Linked DNA regions of Homo sapiens: region 1 is linked to region 2. The links are contacts of gene promoters, found by promoter capture Hi-C in blood cells and fetal thymus (Javierre and others, 2016). All regions are on one chromosome and are shown on one strand. The core of a region is centred on a gene start or on the middle of the fragment in contact, and the rest is flanking DNA. Distances in the headings are between cores, read along the strand shown.

Region 1 (6,040 bases), core at 2,758-5,257, 600 kb before region 2:
AAATGTTGACTGACTTACATTTATTTTAGTTTGCAATCTCCCCAGAAATATAAAGCACTGTGGAAGATATAAGATAGAAAAGCCAAAATGTTTATCCATAACAAGTTTTCCATCTTCCTAAGGGAAAGAAAATATATAAAAGATTCAAGACAGCTGTCCACAGGACATCCATAGGACAGGAAGGAGTACTCTCATGTACTGCTACTGGCAAAAGTTCTCTGGAAGCTGTATGGTAGCAGGTGTTCAAAGCCTTTGAAAGCCCCCACCTTTGGCCTTGCAGTGCCCTATCAGGGAATTTGTCCTACAAAGAAAATCAAGGATTAAGGGTGTGGTACAGAAATGTCCATTGCACAGTCCACTGTTCACAACCGTGGAAACTTAGAATCCACCTCTGTATCCAAAAATGGGGATTATTACCAGGAACTAAGAGGCAGCCATTAAAATCAGTAGTAAAATAATTATTTAACATGGGAAAAGACTCACACTGGATCAAATTAAAGCATGTTATAAAACATTACATGTATCTATGATGTCATGGATATTTTAAAAATATATTTACATATTTGCAATGGTTAAAAAAAAAATTACCAAAAAAGAAATACTAATTTTAACACTGGTATCTCTAAACGGTAGCATTATACAGCTTTTCATTTTCTTCTTACATAGCTCTATTTACTGCAGTTTAAAAAATGAATATGGAACCCTGGGTAAAGATTTAAAATATACCATATGGCTCCAACTACACGAAAGAATAATAATGCAAATGATAATAACAGCTATTGTCTCTTTGGCACCTCCAACTTACCAGGCACTGTTCTAAGAGTTTTGCATGAATTTATGTAATCCTCACGACAGACACAAAGGGCAAGCACGTGTGACACCCATTTTCCTGATGGCACAGCTGGCGAGTGGCAACACAGGACAGCAACCCAGGAAAGGGGTTGGGGTCAGGCACTACATTCCCTCCCCCTATACCGTCCCCCGCAAAGCAAATACCTGATAATCATGGGCAGCTACCAGGAGTGAGCAATAACCCTGAATCAAAAAAGGAGAAATCAGCTGAAGATCAAAGTCACAATTACTAGCTGTGAGTGTGCCAAGCTAACCATTTAGCACCCATGCCACAAGCATGCTCTGTGCTACTCAGCATCATGTACACATTCTCAGAAGTGACACAAGTTGACATCAGAAGTGTTTTGTATTTCAGATTTAGGGATATTTTCATTATAGTTATCAGTTGAGCATCTCAAATCCTGAAAATCCAAAACACTCCAATGAGCATTTCCTTTGAGTGTCACATTGGTACTCAAAGAATTTCAGATTTTGGAGCATTTTGGATTTTCAGGTTTGGCATGTACATTAGTCCACGTTCACACTGTTACAAAGACATACCCAAGACTGGGTAATTTATAAAGAAAAGAGGTTTAAATGACTCACAGTTCCACATGGCTGGTGAGGCCACAGGAAACTTACAATCATGGCGAAAAGCACCTCTTCACAGGGCAGCAGGAGACAGAAGGGTGAGGAGCAAAGGGGGAGGAGCCCCTTATAAAACCATCAGATCTCCTGAGAACTCCCTCGTTATCACAAGAACAGCATGGGGGAAATCACCCCCATGATCCCATCTCCTAGGATTCTACTGGATCCAGCACTGTCCAATAGATTTTTTTTTTCTTTGTAGAAATGAGGTTTTGCCACGTAGCCCAGGCTGATCTCTAACTCCAAATCTCATCTTGAATTGTAATCCCCATAATCTCCTGGGTCTCTCCCTAGGTCTCTCCCTAGACGTGGGGATTATGCAGATTACAATTCAAGATGAGATCTGGGTGTGGACACAGGCAAACCGTATCAGTCAGCATGCTTAACCTGTACTGTTAAAACATCCAAGGTGATCCACAGATTCAATGCAATGTCTACCAAATTTACAATGGTATTCTTCACAGATATAGAAAAACAATCCTGAAATTCACATGGAATCACAAAAAAAAAAAACCCCAATAACTAAAGCATTCTTGAGTAAAAAGAACAAAGCTGGAGGCATCACACTACCTGATTTCAAAGTGTATTACCAAGCTATAGCAGCCAAAACAGCATGGCACTAGCATAAAAGCAGACACACAGACCAACAGAGCAGAATAGAGAGCTGAGAATTAAACTCACATGATACAGTCAATAGACCTTTGACAAAGGTGCCAAGAACACCCAATGGGAAAAGGACAGTCTTCAACATATGGTGCTGGGAAAATTGGATATCCACATGCAGAAAAATTAAATTGGAACCTTGTCTCACAACACATACAAAAATGAACTCAAAATGGACTAAAGACTTAAATGTAAGACCTGAGACTATGAAACTACCAGAAATAAGCACCATGGAAAGCTCCAAGACATTGGTCTGGACAATGAGTTCTTGGATATGACCCCAAAAGCACCGAAAACAGAGGCAAAAATAAGATAAATGGGATTTCATCAAACTGAAAAGATTATGCACAGCAAAACAGAATTAAGAGACAACTCACAGAACGGAAAGAAAGTATTTGCAAACCATACATCTGATAAGAAGCTAATATCCAAAATATATTTAAAAACTCAGTAACAAAAAAAAACCTGATTAAAAAATGATGAGCAAAGGACCCAAACAGACATTTCTCCAAAGACATACAAATGGCCAACAGATTAGAAAATGTTCAACATCACTAATGATCAGAGAAATGCACATTCAAATCATGAGAGCATCTCACAACTGTAGAATGGCTATTATCAAAAAGATGAAAGGCGACAGGTGTTGGCAAGGATGTGGAGAAAAGATAAGCCTTGCACATTGTTGGTGGGAATGTAAATTCCTGAAGCCATTCTGGGAAACAGTATGGAGGTTCCTCCAAAATCTAAAAACAGAATTATCATATGATCCAGCAATCCCACTACTGGGTATATAGCCAAAGAAACTAAAATCAGTATGTTGAAGAGATGTCTGCACTCCCATTTTCATGGCAGCACTATTCACAACAGCCAAGATATAAAATCAATCTAAGTGTCCACTGAAAGATGAGAGAATAAAGAAAATGTGGGATATATACACAATAGAATACTAGTCAGACTTTTAAAAAAAGGAAATCCTGTTATTTGCAACAACAATGAATGAACCTGGAGAACATTGTGCTAAGAGAAAGCAGGGCACAAAAAGACAAATACTGCACGATCTCACCTATATGTAAAGTGTAAAAAAGCTGAACTCACAGAAGCAGACAAGAGAATGGTGGTTACCAGATGCTGAGGAGGCTGGGAAGGAGGAAACAGGAGCTAGACAGGGAAAGGGGAGATGTTAGTCAAAGGGTACAAAATTTCAGTCGGACGGGAGGAATAAATTTTAGTGATCTATTGTACAGCAGGTGACTACAGTTAACAATAATTTAAAGTATATTTCAAAATTGCTAAAAGATTAGATTTTAAATGTTCTTACCACAAAGAAATAAGAAGTATGTGAGGTAACGGATATGTTCATTCCCGACTTAATCATTCCACAATGCATTCATATACCATAACATAATGATGTTACTCCATAAATACATGCAACTATTTGTCAATTTAAAAACAAAATATAAGAATTAAAGAAAAGAAACTGGATATGAGGCAAGCTTTATGTGACTAGCTGGTCTACATTTCATGCTCTGTTGATCTGAGAGACCAAAAGCCAACCAAAAACTTCCAAGGGTGAGGATGAGAAAAGAGCAGATTTCTGTTCTGAACCACCTGGGCCTTTGGATGCTTTCCACTTTTCCAGAAAAACAGTTAAATAAATGAACAGCAACTGTGAAACCTGCAGATAATTTTAGTATTAGTTGCAGTGCCAAGGAGCTGGAAAGATCAATTATTAATATATTAGGGTTACCATCCCTATCATATCAAACATAACTATTCCAGAAATGGTCTATGACAAGAAAGAGCTGTGGTTTCCTTACACTTGACAAATTGGCTTTATTCCCTCTTGGCAACTATGAGAACAGGCTCACCCAGTTTCATCTGAAATGTTTTGTTTTCCTTTCAAGTAGTGATGGTAACACTGTATGTGAGCCCACAGTCAATTCTTAAGCAAAAAAGCCTCATTAATATCAAACTATCCATCAAGATTACCCTTTTCTATTATGTATGAATATAGCTAAGTATCAAGAACAGTAGACATCTTTCTTTCAAACAGAACTAAGTTAAAATCCATAGCTTTATTATAATAATTTTGTTGCTAATATTCCTGAAACCACGTTATTAATGTGAGCTTAATAATGTATCAATTAACTGGAATCTTATATCCTTAACTTTCAGCTCTTGAAATAAAAAACTGGTAAACATGTTACAGGCGTGATGGCTTTAACCAAACAAGCTTTCTCCTAGGAACATAAAATCTGCTTTTGCCAGTTACATTTCACCTGCTTCCCTAGTTGTCAGATGCCTAATCAGACAATGTTGCATAGGGTGGGAACATCTTGGAAGCTAATTCATTGTGACCTTTTCAGTGAACAAGCATGTGCACACACACACATGCACACATACACATCCTACAGTAGCTACAACACTTGAATCAGAATTCCACAGTAACATAGCAAAATACTGGAAACAGAAATCACTCTGAATTTCTCTGTAGCTGTTTACCTAAGAAAATGCAAAGAAATGTCCTATCACTTGCTTGGTTTGCCTCAGTAAGTTACTTATCCTCAAGTGAAATTCTACAAACATCATCATCATCATCATTTTTTTTTTCTTTTTTTGAGACGGAGTTTTGCTCTGTTGTCCAGGCTGGAGGGCAGTGGCGTGATTAGTAGAGATGGGGTTTCACCATGTTGGTCATGCTGGTCTCAAACTCCTGACCTAAGGTGATCTACCCGCCTCAGCCTCCCAAAGCGCTAGGATTACAGGCATGAGCCACTGCACCCAGCCAACATCATCATTATTCTTATTAATAATTATTATTTTGGTTGCTTTTGAGATACAAATAGAAATTGTGTGCCTAGGGGTTTTTTGCCCTAACTGGAAAAAAAAAAAAAATTTAAGCATGCCAAGTAAAAAAGTTATAAGAAAATGAAGTCATCCAAGTTGCACTGCTTTCCAACAGTAATTAAATTTTTTTAATTTTCCAAATTTCAAAGTTTTCCAGCTTAAAACCCAGTGCTTCTCAAAGTTTACCAATAAATGCGACTCACACAATATTCCTTTAAAACCAATTTATAAAAATATTTTCATAATCAAAACAATTGGGGGATAATATCTGATTTTCTACAGGTAATTAAGGAGGGCATGCACCAAAACAGCTGACATATTAACCAAGTTTACTTCCTTTTTCCCTTTAACAAATCTTAGCAGAGCTTAAACTGACAGTAAATAAGAATATATACACCAAAAACAATCTGTTACAAACACAATTCAGTCTAAACTAACCCCTGGAAGAAAAGCACCTTGACATTTACAACTATAGAACAAAAGCTAATCTAGAATTTAAGCTATTAGTTTTAAGTTTTGTGTCTGTAGTTTCAAAACATTTCTTATCAATTTCCCACCTTTCAGAATTTTGTGAAAATGAAATGTGTAAATCCCACAACATATTTCACAAGTGCAAGGCCCTTCCCTCCTGACTCCCTAAGCAATTCTTAAACACTGGGAAATTGCTGCACTGTGGCCCGCATGGGAGATGACCAAGTCCTTCAGGGCCCAGCCCTGTCCCTTCACATCACCTTACAAGGCTGGAAGCCAGAGCTGGATGCATAGCATACAAAATGACTTCTCAGGGTAACTTCCCAAAAAACACAATGACTGAACAATTTATCAGGTTTTTCATGTGCTGTTTTCATATTTTCATTTTTATTATCTCCTAGGTAATTACAAGTGTGACTCACACTAAGCTTGAAGAATGCTAACATTTGCCTCTTGCTTAAATTTACTGGAAGAGATATTTACTCTTTAAAAATAGCACAAAATAAGTCAAAACTAATTTTTTACTTTAAAATGAAACTCACTTGCTATCACTTACAACCTCAAGTTCATTCTATTAGTA
Region 2 (6,557 bases), core at 1-2,500:
ACCTGACATGCCAGGGCTGAGCAGGTACGAAATACCTTGGCATTCCTGCCTTGTCGGAGTCTCAGGGCACCTACGAAGGAGGCAACGGGCCTATTTCCCTTTACAGGACACCTTCAGGACACGGGTTTTAACCTGCTCAGGGTCTCATCGCCTTTCCCAGCCAGGCCAGCGGCCAGAGTGACACTGTCCCCCAGGGTTTAACTTAGAGTCCATTCTACCTCTCATTTTCTCTAAAAAACCCCAACCAACCAACTAACCAAATTCTACACGCTGCATATTTTAAAAGCATTTCAAGGTTTATCCTTTAAAACGGAAGGAGGACCTGGGAGGCCGAAGCGGGTGGATCACGAGGTCAGGAGTTCGAGACCAGCCTGGCCAACATGGTGAAACCCCGTGTCTACTAAAAATACAAAAATTAGCCGGGCATGGTGGCACATACCTGTAATCCCGCCTACTCGGGAGGCTGAGGCAGGAGAATCGCTTGAAACCGGAAGGCGGAGGTTGCAGTGAGCCGAGATCGCGCACTGCTCTCCAGCTTGGGCAACAACAGCAAAACTCCGTGTCAAAAATAAAAAAAAAAAAAAAAAAAGAAGGAGGAAATATTTCTCAAGTAGCGACTGCAACTTCCATAGTCAAATTTTCATTCCAAGCTATAAATGGAGATGACTGTCCACTTTTCAGGACAAAAAGCTTCTTGCAAAAGTAGAAGAGCAAAAGCAAAATCCTCCACTAGAAAGCGCCCCCATCTCTAATCTGTAACAGTGAGAGCCTCAGGACGAGTTCCGCAGACGCTCATTTAAAGCAAACTTTTTCAATGACCTTGAGGGTGGCTGTACTTACACGCGGAGAAGCAAATCGACCGCAGCTGGAAAGGCGCTGGGTCGAGCGTGAGAGGAACACGGGTTTTACCTAAGGGAGAGTGGAAGAGAGAAGGGGGTTCCCCAAGGGCCCCGGCCCCTTCGCCTCGTTCGGGCCCCGCGGCCAAGCTCCTCGCACCGCAGCCCCGGCTGTGCAGAAGCGGAGGGGCGGAAGGTGCTCTCAGAACTTTCATTTTCCACCCTGCAGCAGTCCCGAGCCTCGGCTGGAGAACTCGGATGCTTGCGAAACGGCGAGGTCCAGCAGGGGCGGGACGGGGGCGGTGGGCGGAGGAGGATAGGGCGGGGCCGCGGCGGTGAAAGGGCCCGGGGGCGGGGGCGGGGGCGGGGCGAGGCGAGGCCGCCGCGGTCCGGGCCCCCGACGTGGGCTCCGTGCTCTGCACCCAGCTCCTTCCCGGGCGCGCACACGCGCTTCCTCTCTTGAGCTCCCGGGCGTCCGGAGGCGAAGGTCCCGGAGCGTTCACGAGAATCCGGGTCCCGGCGAGTCCGGGGTCCGCTCCTCCAGCTGCGCCCAGGGCGCACGAGCCGGCCAGCCTCGGGGAGAGGGCGCGGGGGCGCTGGGGGTTCTTACGGGAAGATGAGGAAGCCCGACAGCAAGATCGTGCTCCTGGGGGACATGAACGTGGGGAAGACGTCGCTGCTGCAGCGGTATATGGAGCGGCGCTTCCCGGACACGGTCAGCACGGTGGGCGGCGCCTTCTACCTGAAGCAGTGGCGCTCCTACAACATCTCCATCTGGGACACCGCAGGTGAGGCCGGCGCCGCATGAGCCACACCGCCCTGGGGCTCCGCCGGGGACGGGGGGCGCGGGGCTTCCAGCAGGGCACCCGGCCGCGCACAGGGTCCCGGCCTCGGACAGCAAATGCCTCCTTCTCGGGGTTTCCCACTCGTCCTCCCTTGCTGGTTGGGCTGAGCGCTGCCTCTCAGCCACTCAGTGACCTCAGGGACAACCCAAGTTGCAGAGAACCCGCTGGTCATTTGTGTACCTAAGCTGCCTTTGCTCCCGAGCCCCGCGTTCCTGCTCTGCCGCCCTGGGAACCAGAGACGCTCCTCTGTGGCTGCTTTGTTAGGTATTTTCAGTTTTCACGTACCCGTAGGAACATGATATCCTTTGAGATTCACTTGAGGGGTGAGCAGAGCTGGTGTTATTAGCCCCTTTCTAAGAAAAAGTAAAATGAGGCACAGAGTGTTCCCCCCTGTTGGGTTTAGTCAGGAGAGAGGAAATAAAACTGGAGCCTCCGGACCTCTTAGCCCGGAGCATATCTGCCTTTTACAGTTAATCTTCTGCTTGATCTTGGCTCAGATACGTCATATGGGTTTGGGTTGGAGTGACTTCCGGTGGAAGCATTTTTAAGATAGGTAATGAGTTATTTTTATTGTGTAGTATTTGTGACTTTTCAAAAGTACAACTTAGAGGATCTCAATTCAGGCTTTCTGTTTAACTTTGGAAAATAACACTGGTGATTGTAGCATTGCAATGGAATATATTTCCTTCTCCTTACAAAAGAATAAGATATTGTAAGTGAATGAAGAAACTGGAAATAGTGTGACACATTTTCAATGAGTGTGAGTTTTTAGAAGCCTGAAACTCTGAAAGTTCTGACTTCTTTTATGTTAGCATCTTAAAAAGTCATATACCCAAAGGCCCCGTCCAGAATTCTTAAATTGCCATCTTGGGTGTATCAGTATGCTGAATAAACAAGATGATAATGAATTCTCTCTTTAAAACTGAATTAACGAAGCTCACAGAGGTACTTCCAGTTCTCCCCCTCCCTTTTGCCTTCTTTGATGCTTTTTTATTATTATCCCAGTTAACATCGTGACTAATTTATTGGCAATCATCTTGTGAAAACAATGTCCCCCAGGTAAAGAGGTGCATTTCCCTGATCTTTGCTCCAACTCTGTCTTCTGCCTCAGGCTGCAGGATGAGGTTTACTGAGCTGACTCCCTCACACTGAGCATTTGGTAACGATGGAACACACGCTCTAGAAGTCAAATCGAACCCAATTCACGAACCCAATTTGCTTCTGTACAAAGTCAAATTGAACCCAATTTGGTTTTGTACAAAGCTTTGCCCCTCTGCTGCTTTTGCTGGTTGGCTGGGATTTACTGCTGCCCTTGGTTTACAAGTAGCAAGGTTAATGCAGGAGTGTTATTGGGGGACCCTAACCGAAACCCCTGTAGTGGCCACCGTTGGAGGCAGACTCTTAACACACGGTGTGTTTCTGGAACAAGAGCTGCCCTGCAGTGCTGGAACGGCCCCTGCATCGGAGGGAATGAAGCAGCAGTTTCGTTTCCACTGGCCTCTTGCTTCTTCAGCACCAAGGACGTGATGCAGCCGGAATCCTGATCACCAGAGATTTTGCAGTTGTGCTGATGTGACGCCCCAGATGTCTTGAAGCGTTACTGGGGGGCAGCAGCTCATTTCCTGGCATCCGAGGCTGCTGCTGCTTGTTCGAAAGATCCTAAGGGTGAATTACTAGAGCTCCTCAGAACAGAGAGTGGCCAGGCCCCTTCTCCACATTCCTGACTTCCTGTGTACACACTCAGGCGGCCCTTGCCCAGAGTTGGCAGGGACACAGGGCACCCTTGCCTGCCTCCTCGGTGGCCTGTGGCCTGACCGGGTACTTGAAGGGAAAAGAGAGGTAGGAACAGATACCTTTTCTATAATTGTTGGAAATTCAGAATTTAACATTTAGGGGACCCTGTTCTTTTCCTTCTTTTGCTGAGCTCCTAAACTTTCTCTCCACCCCACAGACATTGCTTTTCAAGTTGTTTTTGTTGTAATTGTCATAACCGAGGCAGAATGGTAAGGACCAGCCGGAGGAGGAACCATTTTGAAAGTTGCTTTTAGCCACACAAGGCAGGGTGGGCTGGGGTGGGGGTGCAGGTGTGCAGAGGGCGACAGGATGTTTAATAGTAAAAACGATTGCATGGGGGTCAGTGTACACCCAATGCCTGGCTGCTTGTAGCCTGCAAGGCAGGCAGTGGATGGAGCTGAAGAGGGGGAAGAGAGTTGGCAGGGCAGAAGTACATTACCCTATTCCATTGACACAACAGTCCTCCAGAGGGAGGTGTGATTATTTGCATGTTAAAGATGGGGCCAGGCGTGGTGGCTCATGCCTGTAATCCCAGCACTTTGGGAGGCTGAGGTGGGTGGATCACGAGGTCAAGAGATCAAGACCATCCTGGCTAACATGGTGAAACCCCATCTCTACTAAACATACAAAAGTTAGCAGGGCGTGGTGGCGCACACCTGTAGTCCCAGCTACTCGGGAGGCTGAGGCAGGAGAATCGCTTGAACCAGGAGGCAGAGGTTGCAGTGAGCCAAGATTGTGCCACTGCACTCCAACCCGGTGACAGAGCGAGACTCTGTCTCAAAAAAAAAAAAAAAAAAAAAAACAGATGGGAAGACAGGGCTGCGCGGTGGCTCATGCCTGTAATCCCAGCACTTTAGGAGGGTGAGGCGGGCAGATCACCTAAGGTCAGGAGTTCAAGACCAGCCTGGTTAATGTGGTGAACCCGTGTCTACTAAAAATACAAAAATTAGCTGGGTGTGGTGGCTGGCGCCTGTAATCCTAGCTACTTGGGAGGCTGTGGCAGGAGAATCGCTTGAACCCTGGAGGCGGAGGTTGCAGTGAGCCAAGATTGCGCCATTGCACTCCAGCCTGGGTGACAAGAGTAAGACTCTGTCTCAAAAAAAAAAAAAAAAAAAAGTGGGAAGACAGCAGAAGTTAAGTGGGATTTAGACCTTGGTTCATCCAACTCCAACTCACCTTGTCTCATTATGCCCTTTTAGGGGGCACTTGCCACTCCCAGCCCTTGTCTAATTGGGCACACAGATGTGGAGTGGTTGCTGTGCATGGGTGGGTACATCCAGGAAGCAAAAGGAGGTTGCCCAGCGAGGAGGCAGAGCCCTAGAAGACGTACTGCTGTGCTCCTCTGTGTTGCCCGGTTGCTCAGGACAGCCTAAAGTGGTGTTGCCTGTTGTTGGCAAATATAAACTGAGGCTCCCCGGTGCCGGGCACTGTTTGGGCCCTCGTTCTACAGCAGTGAGCAGGCCGGCTGGCCGCTGCCCCGCAGGCCCTGGATTCCAGAGGAGGGGGAAAGGCAGGCAAGAAGTGAATGGTACAGCTTCACATCTGATCGTTGCTCTGAAGAAAATACGACAGGCTGATGAGAAAGCGGCTGGTGTGCCCAGCACAGACCTGGTCCCCAGAGCCCTGGAGACAGAATGCTCTCCACATTTGTTTTCCTTCCCTTCTAAAGGCCGTGGCCTGGCGGCCGGGAGGCGGGGGGAGCAGGGGCATTACCTGACTCACGTTTGCATCCCCAGCACCTGGCCCTTGAAGAGCCAGCTTGGAAGGCGGCGGGGAGCCCAGACTTGCGCCACTTCCCTGTGCCGGCATCCAGCTCCAGCTGCGTCTCTGGGGACTGGGTGTTGGAGAGAGTGAGTGCATTTTGCATGTGGAATGGATGCACGTCTGTGGGAGCCTGAAGCCAGGCTGTGACAGACAGAATAGTGGCCACCGCAAAGATGAGACATCTTGGTCTCTTGAGAGTCCTCTGGCCTTTGGGTCCTTCTGAGGCACCAGCAGAAGGTTATGTGGCCACACCAGGGCCTCCTCTCCAGCACAGGCGTTCCGGATGGTGGGCCTCCTAGTGTGAGCCTCCCAGCAATCTGCCTGACTGAGGACTTCCCACATCACCAAGTCCTGCTCCTCTTTGTTCGACAATTCTTCCCTCATCCTATCTGTTCTTCCTCATCTTAATATAAACAGCAAGAAAAATCCACACCTTCAACACTTTGCTTGGAAATCTCCTCAGCTACATATCCAACTTCATCACACAGTGATGCTTCCCTCACAGCTGTGGGGCACGACTCAGCTGAGCTCTCTGGCACCACATCCTCCCTCCTCCAGCTTCTGATAACACAGTCCTCATTCAGACCCCAGGCTTCCACCTGTAATTGGCTCCTTCTGGTGGAGGTGTTCACTACGAGGATGCAGGTTTTCTCTGCTATGCTTCTCGCTTCCTTCTGATTCCTCACCAGCAGGGCTGTTCATGTGCACCTTCCTGCCAACCATCTGTTTAGGCCAATCCGGGCTGCCCTCTCATGATCCTCAGATCCTCCCAGATCTGCCATTGCCCAGTTCTAAAGCCACTTCCATATTCGTGACAGCCTCTCTCTGCTCCCAGTTCCAAAGTCTGTGTCAGTTTCCTATTGCTGCTATAACAAATTAGTTACTTAAAACAACACAAATTTGCTGGGCATGGTAGCTCCTGCCTGTAATCCCAGCATTTTAGGAGGCTGAAGTGAAAGGATCACCTGAACCTAGGAGTTCAAGACCAGCCTGGGCAACACAGGGAGACGGTTTCTACAAAGAATAAAGAAGTTAGCCAGGTGTAGTGGTGCGCACCTGTAGTCCCAGCTACTTGGGAGGCTGAGGTAAGAGGATTTCTTGAGCCTGGGAGGTTGAGGCTGCAGTGAGCCATGATCATACCACTGCACTCCAGCCTGGGCAACAGAGTAAGACCCTGTCTCAAATGAATAAATAAATAAAAATTAAAACCATAGATATATTGTCTTTAAGTAGTCTGGAGGTCAGAAGTCCCAAATGAGTCTCTCACTGGGCTAAAGTCAAAGCTTGCAGGATTGCATTCCTTTCTGGAGGCTGAAGG

Evidence for each region. The method cuts DNA at HindIII sites, captures the fragments that hold promoters and counts their contacts. A CHiCAGO score of 5 or more calls a contact.
Region 1: a fragment that was not itself captured here is called in contact with the fragment with the promoter of RAB20 in region 2 in 1 of 17 cell types (monocytes); the score reaches 6.7 in monocytes.

What each region holds. Positions count from the first base shown.
Region 1 is chr13:111,156,287-111,162,326 of GRCh38, reverse strand. The region is part of intron 2 of ARHGEF7 (Rho guanine nucleotide exchange factor 7); the gene reads right to left. Among named protein-coding and RNA genes, the nearest start is that of ARHGEF7-AS1, 11 kb to the right of the region's middle. The HindIII fragment of the contact is 740 bases long and covers 3,638-4,377 here.
Region 2 is chr13:110,556,415-110,562,971 of GRCh38, reverse strand. RAB20 (RAB20, member RAS oncogene family) reads left to right here and starts at 1,250. Exons shown (of 2, transcript NM_017817.3): 1 at 1,250-1,624. The coding sequence starts at 1,453. RefSeq lists silencers at 1,121-1,570, 1,462-1,651, 1,631-1,690 and enhancers at 4,532-5,054, 5,055-5,578. The HindIII fragment of the contact is 2,254 bases long and covers 693-2,946 here.